Regions from separate parts of the Homo sapiens genome. Here all the other regions are linked to region 1. The links are contacts of gene promoters, found by promoter capture Hi-C in blood cells and fetal thymus (Javierre and others, 2016). All regions are on one chromosome and are shown on one strand. The core of a region is centred on a gene start or on the middle of the fragment in contact, and the rest is flanking DNA. Distances in the headings are between cores, read along the strand shown.

The links. Contacts are between HindIII fragments. The CHiCAGO score rates a contact against its expected background, and 5 or more counts as called.
Region 2: a contact is called between a fragment that was not itself captured here and the fragment with the promoter of NTNG1 in region 1, in 4 of 17 cell types (total B cells, naive B cells, endothelial precursors and 1 more). The highest score is 16.0, in total B cells.
Region 3: a fragment that was not itself captured here is called in contact with the fragment with the promoter of NTNG1 in region 1 in 1 of 17 cell types (total B cells); the score reaches 9.4 in total B cells.

What each region holds. Positions count from the first base shown.
Region 1 is chr1:107,139,758-107,142,457 of GRCh38, forward strand. It overlaps NTNG1 (netrin G1), which reads left to right and starts at 1,282. Exons shown (of 8, transcript NM_001113226.3): 1 at 1,282-1,383. RefSeq lists an enhancer at 922-1,453 and silencers at 1,387-1,676, 1,697-1,976. The HindIII fragment of the contact is 6,022 bases long and covers 1-2,700 here.
Region 2 is chr1:104,784,712-104,787,411 of GRCh38, forward strand. No RefSeq gene overlaps it. Among named protein-coding and RNA genes, the nearest start is that of LINC01676, 830 kb to the right of the region's middle. The HindIII fragment of the contact is 798 bases long and covers 1,032-1,829 here.
Region 3 is chr1:104,761,899-104,764,752 of GRCh38, forward strand. No RefSeq gene overlaps it. Among named protein-coding and RNA genes, the nearest start is that of LINC01676, 860 kb to the right of the region's middle. The HindIII fragment of the contact is 906 bases long and covers 1,144-2,049 here.

The DNA.
Region 1 (2,700 bases), core at 32-2,531:
ATTTGTCTTTCTCTTAGAAAAGGCAAGGAAGCCTGAAATGCGCAGCTCTCCCTTGAACTTCAACTTTTTAAAGGGGAATGAATTTCTAAAGGAGGAGTTTCCAGTCTAGGGCTGTAGGGGCCTCCGGGCAAAGGAAGTGCTTGTTGAAAAACAACATTGTGATCACTTCCAGCGGCGAAGGGTGTGCTTGGGAACGGTTTGGGGAGGGGACAGAAGAGAGAGGGGTGGGATGGACGGCGGCAGAAGTGGGAGGTACACGAGGAGTTACTGGAAACGGCGCTTCTGTGGAGGAGCCGGGGGGGATGGGGAGTAGAGGGAGGGGGCCCTGTTGCCTCAGCGCCCCGAGGTCGTGGAGCGGCAGCAGCTGCAGCCGGAGCAGCACCAGCAACAGCAACAGCGAGCGGGACGGAGTTAGGACCGCTCGGAGCGCACAGGTCTCGAGGTAGTATAAGGTTTGCTATCCTTCCACTTGCTGGCAGTTGCAGAAGAAGATCTGCTTTTTAAGTGAAACGTACATGCCACCCCTCCGAGGGCTGCGGCTTCCCCGGGCTTGCTTCTTTGCCGCTCCTCTTTCCGGCTCTCGCGCTCACTCTTTAATTGGCACTGGCCCCTAAGTTTGCCAGGAGCTCGCTGCCCGCTCGGAGCAGGGTCCCGGCCGGGAGCCGCTGGTGGGGGCGGGGAGTCCGGGAGCCGCAATCCAGAAGCGTCGTGGGCCATGTATATTTCATCAAACGGACTTTGGGTGCGTCGCGTCTCACTGCCATCAGTGCTATGTGCAGTGACATTTCTGACTTGAGTGGAGGAATGCGCGAAGGAAACCCGGGCGAAATTGGTATTAGAGGATCTTCTTGGCGCCAATGCTAATTGTCCTGATTTATGCCCCTTCTGACTAAGCTCAACGTCTTCATCTGAAATAAAATGAAAGCGGTGCCAAGCGGCATAGAACCGCCTGGCCGCTGGTTCTGATCCCCGGGAACCAGAAAATCGTCCTGCGGCTTGAAAAAAAAAAAAAGAGGAAAAAAAAAAGAAATAGAAATAGAAAAAAGAAAAAATATCCCTCAGTAAAAGTTTAAGGCGAGAAGTGTCAGAGGCAGCGGAGCGAGGAGGCGCGGAGGAGAGCCGGCGAGCAGGGGACTGGGCTGGCACGACCTCCGAAGGCTGAGATCTCATTATTAATATCACTATATTTTTGGAGGGAGAGGCACCTTTCTCATCCTCTCTTCCTCTCCGCCCACCCTTACTCCCTCCCCCTCATCTACCTGTCAAAGTCACTGATCTTTTGCATTTCGGAAGAGGACGTCAACGGGAAGGAATTCCCCCTCTGGGTGCGGGCTCCGAGAGGGGGCGACTTGCAGGAGGCTCCCCCCGGGGGCGGAGGCGAAGGTAATTAAGCGGCGGGGAGTGGCGGGCCGGCGCTGGGTTCTCGGTCCTCGGGGTCCTCTCCCGCCGGCGGCCGGGCGCGATCGGAATCCCCGGGCTGCGGCGGTGGCGGCGGCTCGGGTCCTCACGCCCACCCCTCCCGCTCCGCCCGCTCCCGCCTGGGGAGGAGGCTCCGCGGGAGCTGCCGCCCTCCGCCCGTACGCCGCCCGCGGGCTCCGCTGCTGCGGCCGCCGCCCGAGGCGGACCAGGCTGGCTGCGCAGGGCCGCCGCCCCGCGCCGTCGGCTCGGCTCCCGCCCGGCGCAAGGGCAAACGAGCCACACGGTAAGTGCCTGCGGCTCGCCTCTCCTACTGCGACCCGAGCCTCTCGCCCGTGCCCCTCTCCCCCGGGTTTCCCCACCCCCCGCCGCCCCCCGCCCCACCCGCTGCGATGCACAGGCGGGAGGGAAGGCTCCGGGTGGGCGAGGAACTTTGTAAAGCGCCCCGAGGAGGCAGCGCGCGGAGCCCTACGCGCACACACAGCGGCACACGCTCACACCCACACACAAGTCTTCCCGGGGGTGCGCCCCGGGCCGGTGATGCGTCCTCTTGTTGTGTCCGGAGCCCAGGCGTGGGGTCTGAGCCTCCATCCGCCGACTGACAGGGGCCCCGCGCTCTCCCTCTCTCACGCACACCTGGCCACACACATCGCTCAGGCGGCTTGTCGTTATTTTTTCTTTCTTTCGCCAATTATATTTGTTTGGGGAAAAGCAAACAAAAAAAACAAAAAAACACTTGCCCTATTGCCGGCCTTGGGGATCTGGTGGCCACATCGAGAGCTTTTGAAGTCCCTTCTTTTAATCGCCTTTATTGGTGCTAGATTAAAACATTACTATCCCATGTTGTGCAGCTGGGGAGAAAGGGAAATTGAAAGAGGAAGACTTGGTGTAGGGATGCTGTTTGGAATATTCTCTCATATTCTTTACTGGCATCATATTAATCGGTTGATGGATTCGGCTAGGGACACTGAATTGCACTCCTGTATGGATCTGTGGATATCTATATATAATACAAATAATACTGAATATTATTGGGCCTAAAATAACCAATTAAGTGATTCATACAAGGAAAAACTTAGATATAAAAAGAAACTGCGCCCTCTGCTGTTAATTTTAGTACCCTCACCCGGGGACTTTTTTTTTTTTTCCTTCAGAAATCCACTTAAGAGTAGGCTGTCATCTTACAGGGCAAGGGAAGAAAATTCCTAGCGGGGATTTTAAAGCAACTTTACTTGGAAAAGTCGCAGGTTGAGCTCCTATAGTTGCATCAGGTACAGATTTCCA
Region 2 (2,700 bases), core at 181-2,680, 2.4 Mb before region 1:
CAGCAAAGATTTTGAGCATGAGGTTATGTAACATTTAATAATCAGGGTTCTGGTTTCATCTAGAACTAACCTACATAAACAGCAGCAAAGACAGATGGCTCATATTACTTTTTATGTGCCTTAAAACATTTTTACATGGTTTGTACTAAATTAAAAAAAATACTGCAGCATCCTCCTGAACATATAAATAAAACTTAGGAAATCAATACAAAAATCACTTTTACAGGTTGAACATCTCTAATATGAAATAAAAAATCCGAAATGCTCCAGTTGTTGAGTGCTGACACGAAACCACCAGTGGAAAATCTCACACCTGACCTTATGTGGCAGGTCACAGTCAAAACACAGTCAAAACTTTGTTCCATACACAAAATTATTTAAAATATTGTATAAAATTACCCTTAGGCTATGTGTATTACTTGTATATGAAACACGAGTGAGTTTTGTGTTTAGATTTGGGTTCCATCCACAAGATACGCCATATATGCAAATATTCCCAAATCTGAAAAAACCTGGAATCTGAAACATTTCTGGTCCTAAGCATTTTAGATAATGGATACTCAACCTGTACATAATCTTTCTTGTAGATGAGAGATTGTTGAAACAAGCAGAAAGATTTTTAATCACCCAAATGCTAATAATAACAAATTTCCCCATGAAATCACTGAATCAAGCTCATTTGTGCACTTCTTTTATTTAAGTTGACACTTCTTTTATTTACTCATTAGTTCATTGATTCACTTATGTAATAAAAACATTCTAAGGATCACTTCTATAGCATTTTAGCAATTATTATATGTGTATTTTGGATTATTGAAAGGACTCATATGACTACACAATGTATACTCAAGTGAAATGTTAATAATGACAATGTGTATGATAAAACAGGAGAAGGAAAACACAGGCAAACATCATGGAGTTCCCAGACATTCAGGCAAAAATTTTCAAGATATCTCATTCTCTTGAAAAATGCTACATCTCATGATCAGAAACCTTGAAGGTGTATCTTGGTGTCAGGGGAACTGAGGCAAAGCTTACTGAGAGTGCTTGTTTCTTTTTAATACCTTATTAGTCATACAGCCAAAACCACCCTTGGTAACCAGTTAAATCAAGTTCAACTCATCTGTCTGTACATTTTCTATAAAGAATGGTGCCAGGCCACCAGGGGAGCTTCAGGACTTTAAATACCACAGAATAGATCATTAATACATATTATTTTATTCTTATCTTGGCCCAGAGTTTGTCAGATGGAGCTTATATTAGGTTGGTGCAAAAGTAATTGCGGTTTTAGACCATGAAATTTAAATCATTATAACTAGGCTCAAACACATCTTTATTAATCAAAGTAGAAACCATTACAATCAACCCGTTTTTGCCAATGAGAAATGTTTATTCCTGTAGCATAAAAAATTGTGCTTCAGAATTTGACAAATTCATGGAAAGCATTTTCTGCATCCTGCTGAAAGTGGAAGCATTTTACCTGAAAAAAGTTGTTGAGACGCTTGAAGAAGTGGTAGTAGGTTTGCAAGAGGTTAGGTGAGTATGACAGATAAGGCAAAACTTCATAGCTAATTCTTTCAACTGTTGAAGCATTCGTTGTGCAATGTGTGTTCGGGCATTGTTGTGAAGAATTGGCCCCTTCTGATGACCAATGCTGGCTGCAGGCATTGAGTATTCATTACATCTCATCAATTTGCTGAGCATACTTGTCAGATGTAATGGTTTCATCAGGATTCAGAAAGCTGTAGAGAATCAGACTGGCAGCAGACCACCAAATAGTCACATCACCTTTTTTTTTGGTGCAAGTTTGGCTTTGGGAAGTGCTTTGAAGCTTCTTCTCAGTCCAACCACTGAGCTTTTCATCAGCAGTTGCCATATAAAATCCACTTTTCATCGTACATCACAATGTGATTGAGAAATGGTTGATTGTTGTTGAATAGAATAAGGAAAGATGACACTTCAAAATGACAATTCTTTTGATTTTCACTCGGCTCATGAGGCACCCACTTATCAAACTTTTTCACCTATCCAATTTGCTTCAAATATTGAATGACCATAGAATGGTCAACACTGAGTTCTTCAGCAACTCCTCCTATAGTTGTAATAGAATCAGCTTTGATAATTGCTCTCAATTGGTCATTGTCAGCTTCCAATATCCAGCCACCATGCTCCTCATCTTCAAGGCTCTGGTCTCCTTTGAAAAACTTTTTTTTTTTTTTTTTTTTTTTTTTTTTTTTTTTTTTTTTGAGGCAGAGTCTCACTCTGCCACCCAGGCTGGAGTGCAGTGGCACGATCACGCTCACTGCATGCTCCGCCTCCCTGGTTCATGCCATTCTCCTGCCTCAGCCTCCCGAGTAGCTGGGACTACAGGCGCCCGCCACCACACCTGGCTAATTTTTTGTATTTTTCGTAGAGACGGGGTTTCACCATGTTAGCCGGGATGGTCTCGATCTCCTGACCTCGTGATCCACCTACCTCGGCCTCCCAAAGTGCTAGGATTACAGGCGTGAGCCACCACGCCCGGCGTGAAAAACTTCTTGAACCATCACTACATTGTATGTTTGACAGCAGTTCTTGGGCCAAATGCATTGTTGATCTTGCCAGTGGTCTCTGCTGCTTTACGACCCATTTTGAACTTGAATAAGAAAATCATTCGAATTTGCGTTTTGTCTAACATCATTTCCATTATCTAAAATAAAC
Region 3 (2,854 bases), core at 347-2,846, 2.4 Mb before region 1:
AGATTCCAATTCCCATAGCTTTGACATTTGTGCTCTTTGCAAACCTTTGCTCAATGTTTTTATTAACTCAATTTAATGGAGCCTTTTTTATGGTGACCTTAAGAATTTAATAACTCTTCAATGCAAGGACAATACCACCTGCAGGCTCCACTGGGATTAAACTGTGACCGTTCCATATGTCTGATGGAACACATTAAAGGAAAGAAGGGGCAGAGGGAGAAGCAGCTACACAAATCTGTCACTTCCCTCTAAGCAGCAAGTACTGCTACTGTTTAGGACGGTCAATCACAGGCACGTGTAGAAAATGTCTGTGATTGCTAAGGTAATTGGCAGCTCACTTGCAGCTCCTTAATAATATTAATCTGACTTTGATCGTGTCAGATATCCTAGCCATCTTCAATTCCAAAGTGCATCTGCTCCTGACAGACATTCTGCATATGTTACAGATACGATCAATATGTTATTAGTCAACATCCTGACGCTAGCCCATGAATTAATCCCTTTCTGTCAACCTAGCAGTTTCTAGTCTTTTGTAACCTCATTCCCTCAGTATGGATGGGACCTGGCTTAATCCAATTAAGATAAAATTAACTTTTTTTTCCCCGTGGTACTCTCCATCTATGTTAATTCAAATCTCTGAGGACAGCTGCTCCAAGAAAATAATTTTATGCTTGACCTTTTATGTGCAAGATTAAAGTGGTATAGATATATGCTTGGGAAGTCAGTGAACTGTCTCTCTATTTTCACCATCCTTTAACTTTCTAGTAGTGCTGGAAAAAGTTCAACTGAACACAGATGATTGCTAAATGGCAGTGATATATTTATCTGGGTTGCAAAAAAAAAAAAAACTCAGTTTAGCTTTGTGTTTAGTAAATATGGTACCTTTGTCTTGTTGAAAGGTAAATTAATAATATGTGGTGACAGTACTATGACACTATTTAGATTTGACAAGCAAAGAATGCTTTAACAGTCTATAATATGCAAAGAGAATCACTGATACTCCTGGTACTTATGTGATACAATGACATTACCTGCTATGAAAAAACACTGATTGGAAAGATTATTTCTCTTTGAGTCAAGGCATTAAAAGTAGGGTTTCTCTGTTATTTGACCGAGACAAAGATTATATTAGGATAATATACAAGCTTCATTCCTGAGAACCTAGCATGCACGGCTTTGAGGTTCAGTGGCTATCAGGTTTTTAAGATTGTAGATCAAGTAATCTCCAGGCCAACATTTGAAAAGAGTTTGCCTCCTAGGCAAAATTGTTTTCATTTTCTATCCCTTCCTCCCTCTTCTAACCCGCCCCACCTCCTACTACTTAACTGCCTTTGGTCTCTAACTTCCTTTAAGACATTTAGAAAAATCATGCTTTTCTTCTCTAAATCAAACCCATTCTGTGGAGAAGATAAATGACAAGTCATTTCCACATCGGCGTGAATTAAAAAAATATATATTGTCTCCTCGCGGCGTTATGAGAATAAAAGTCTTTGACCCTACAACAGAAGTGAAATATTGGTAAGAAAGCCATGGAAATATTTTTACTTGAGCAGACTCCCCTATACCTGCTTTTTAATTTTTTTTTTCAATTGATTGTTAGGAACAAAAATAAGAAGCAAAGGTTCTAAGAATAGGAAGCAGGAAAAAGGATCAGCTAAGACTAACAAAATACATTATTTTAAATTTGTTAGCTACACAACCTCAACATGTGTATAACCTATATGTTTATTAGGAAATGTTTTGTTAAGAGAGCTAACATTAAATACGCACCATCTAGACTTCGGTAATAGAACAATGATGTATCTGTGAAATTCTCTGAACTCCTTCTAGTTGCAAATTTCCCCAACTTAGATATACTGTGTATTTCAATATATCACATGTTTTAGTTGTCTTAGCTTTTTAACTAAATTTGATAGATCTGATAAATTAATATTTTGATTGACCAATACAGTTATTGATATCTTTACTAACTTATATTTTGCATTTCAACAATTCCGTTCGGATCTTTTTTCTGGGGGGTGGTAGAGGCACTAAAATTCATTCTTTACAAGCTTTTGTATCTAGTGGTAGCAATCTTTTTTCAATTTTTGCTTATCTGAACTGTTAAAAATTTAACCTCATTTCTGAAAGACAGTTTTGCTGGCATACAAGTCTATATCAGAGTCATTTTGTCACAGCCTATCAAATATATTTTTATGATTTTATTTTGGCCTCCATTATCACACTAAAAAGTTAGGCTATCAGTGTCCTTTCTTCCCTTCTTAGATAATCAACGTTTTGTCTTTTTAGAAAATATCTTGTTGGCCACCTACATTTCCATAATATACATTTGCTTTTATTTAATCTGTTTGGAATTCATTAGGATGTCCAAATATGAGAAAATTCCTCATCTATCCTGGAATATTATTTTTCCCTTGAAATCTTCTCCCCCATATGAAGGTGTATTTTCACTCTCCCAATTCCCTTGATTATTTTTTTCTATCTCCTTTTTTTAGACACTTTTATATTTTTTAATCCATAATATGGTGTGCCATTTTATTTTTCATTGTTTTATTTTTAAAATAGTAGCTATGTTTTGTTTCTTTAAACAAAATTTGACAGACATATTTACTTTGCATCTGTGTCTGACATATTTTATGTTTGCTGCTGCTTTTCTGCTGGCCAAACGTTTGTTGTTCTTTGTATCTTTATGTGCTTTGTGATTTTAGAGCTCATGAACTGTAGAATTTATATTTTGATTGTTGTATTCAATAATGATTCTTGTATTTAATCTAATTCATTTCACCTAATTTAGACCATGAATTCACATGAGAGTCCTGAAATTAGGAGTCCTCAACAAAGACCTTTCCTTTTC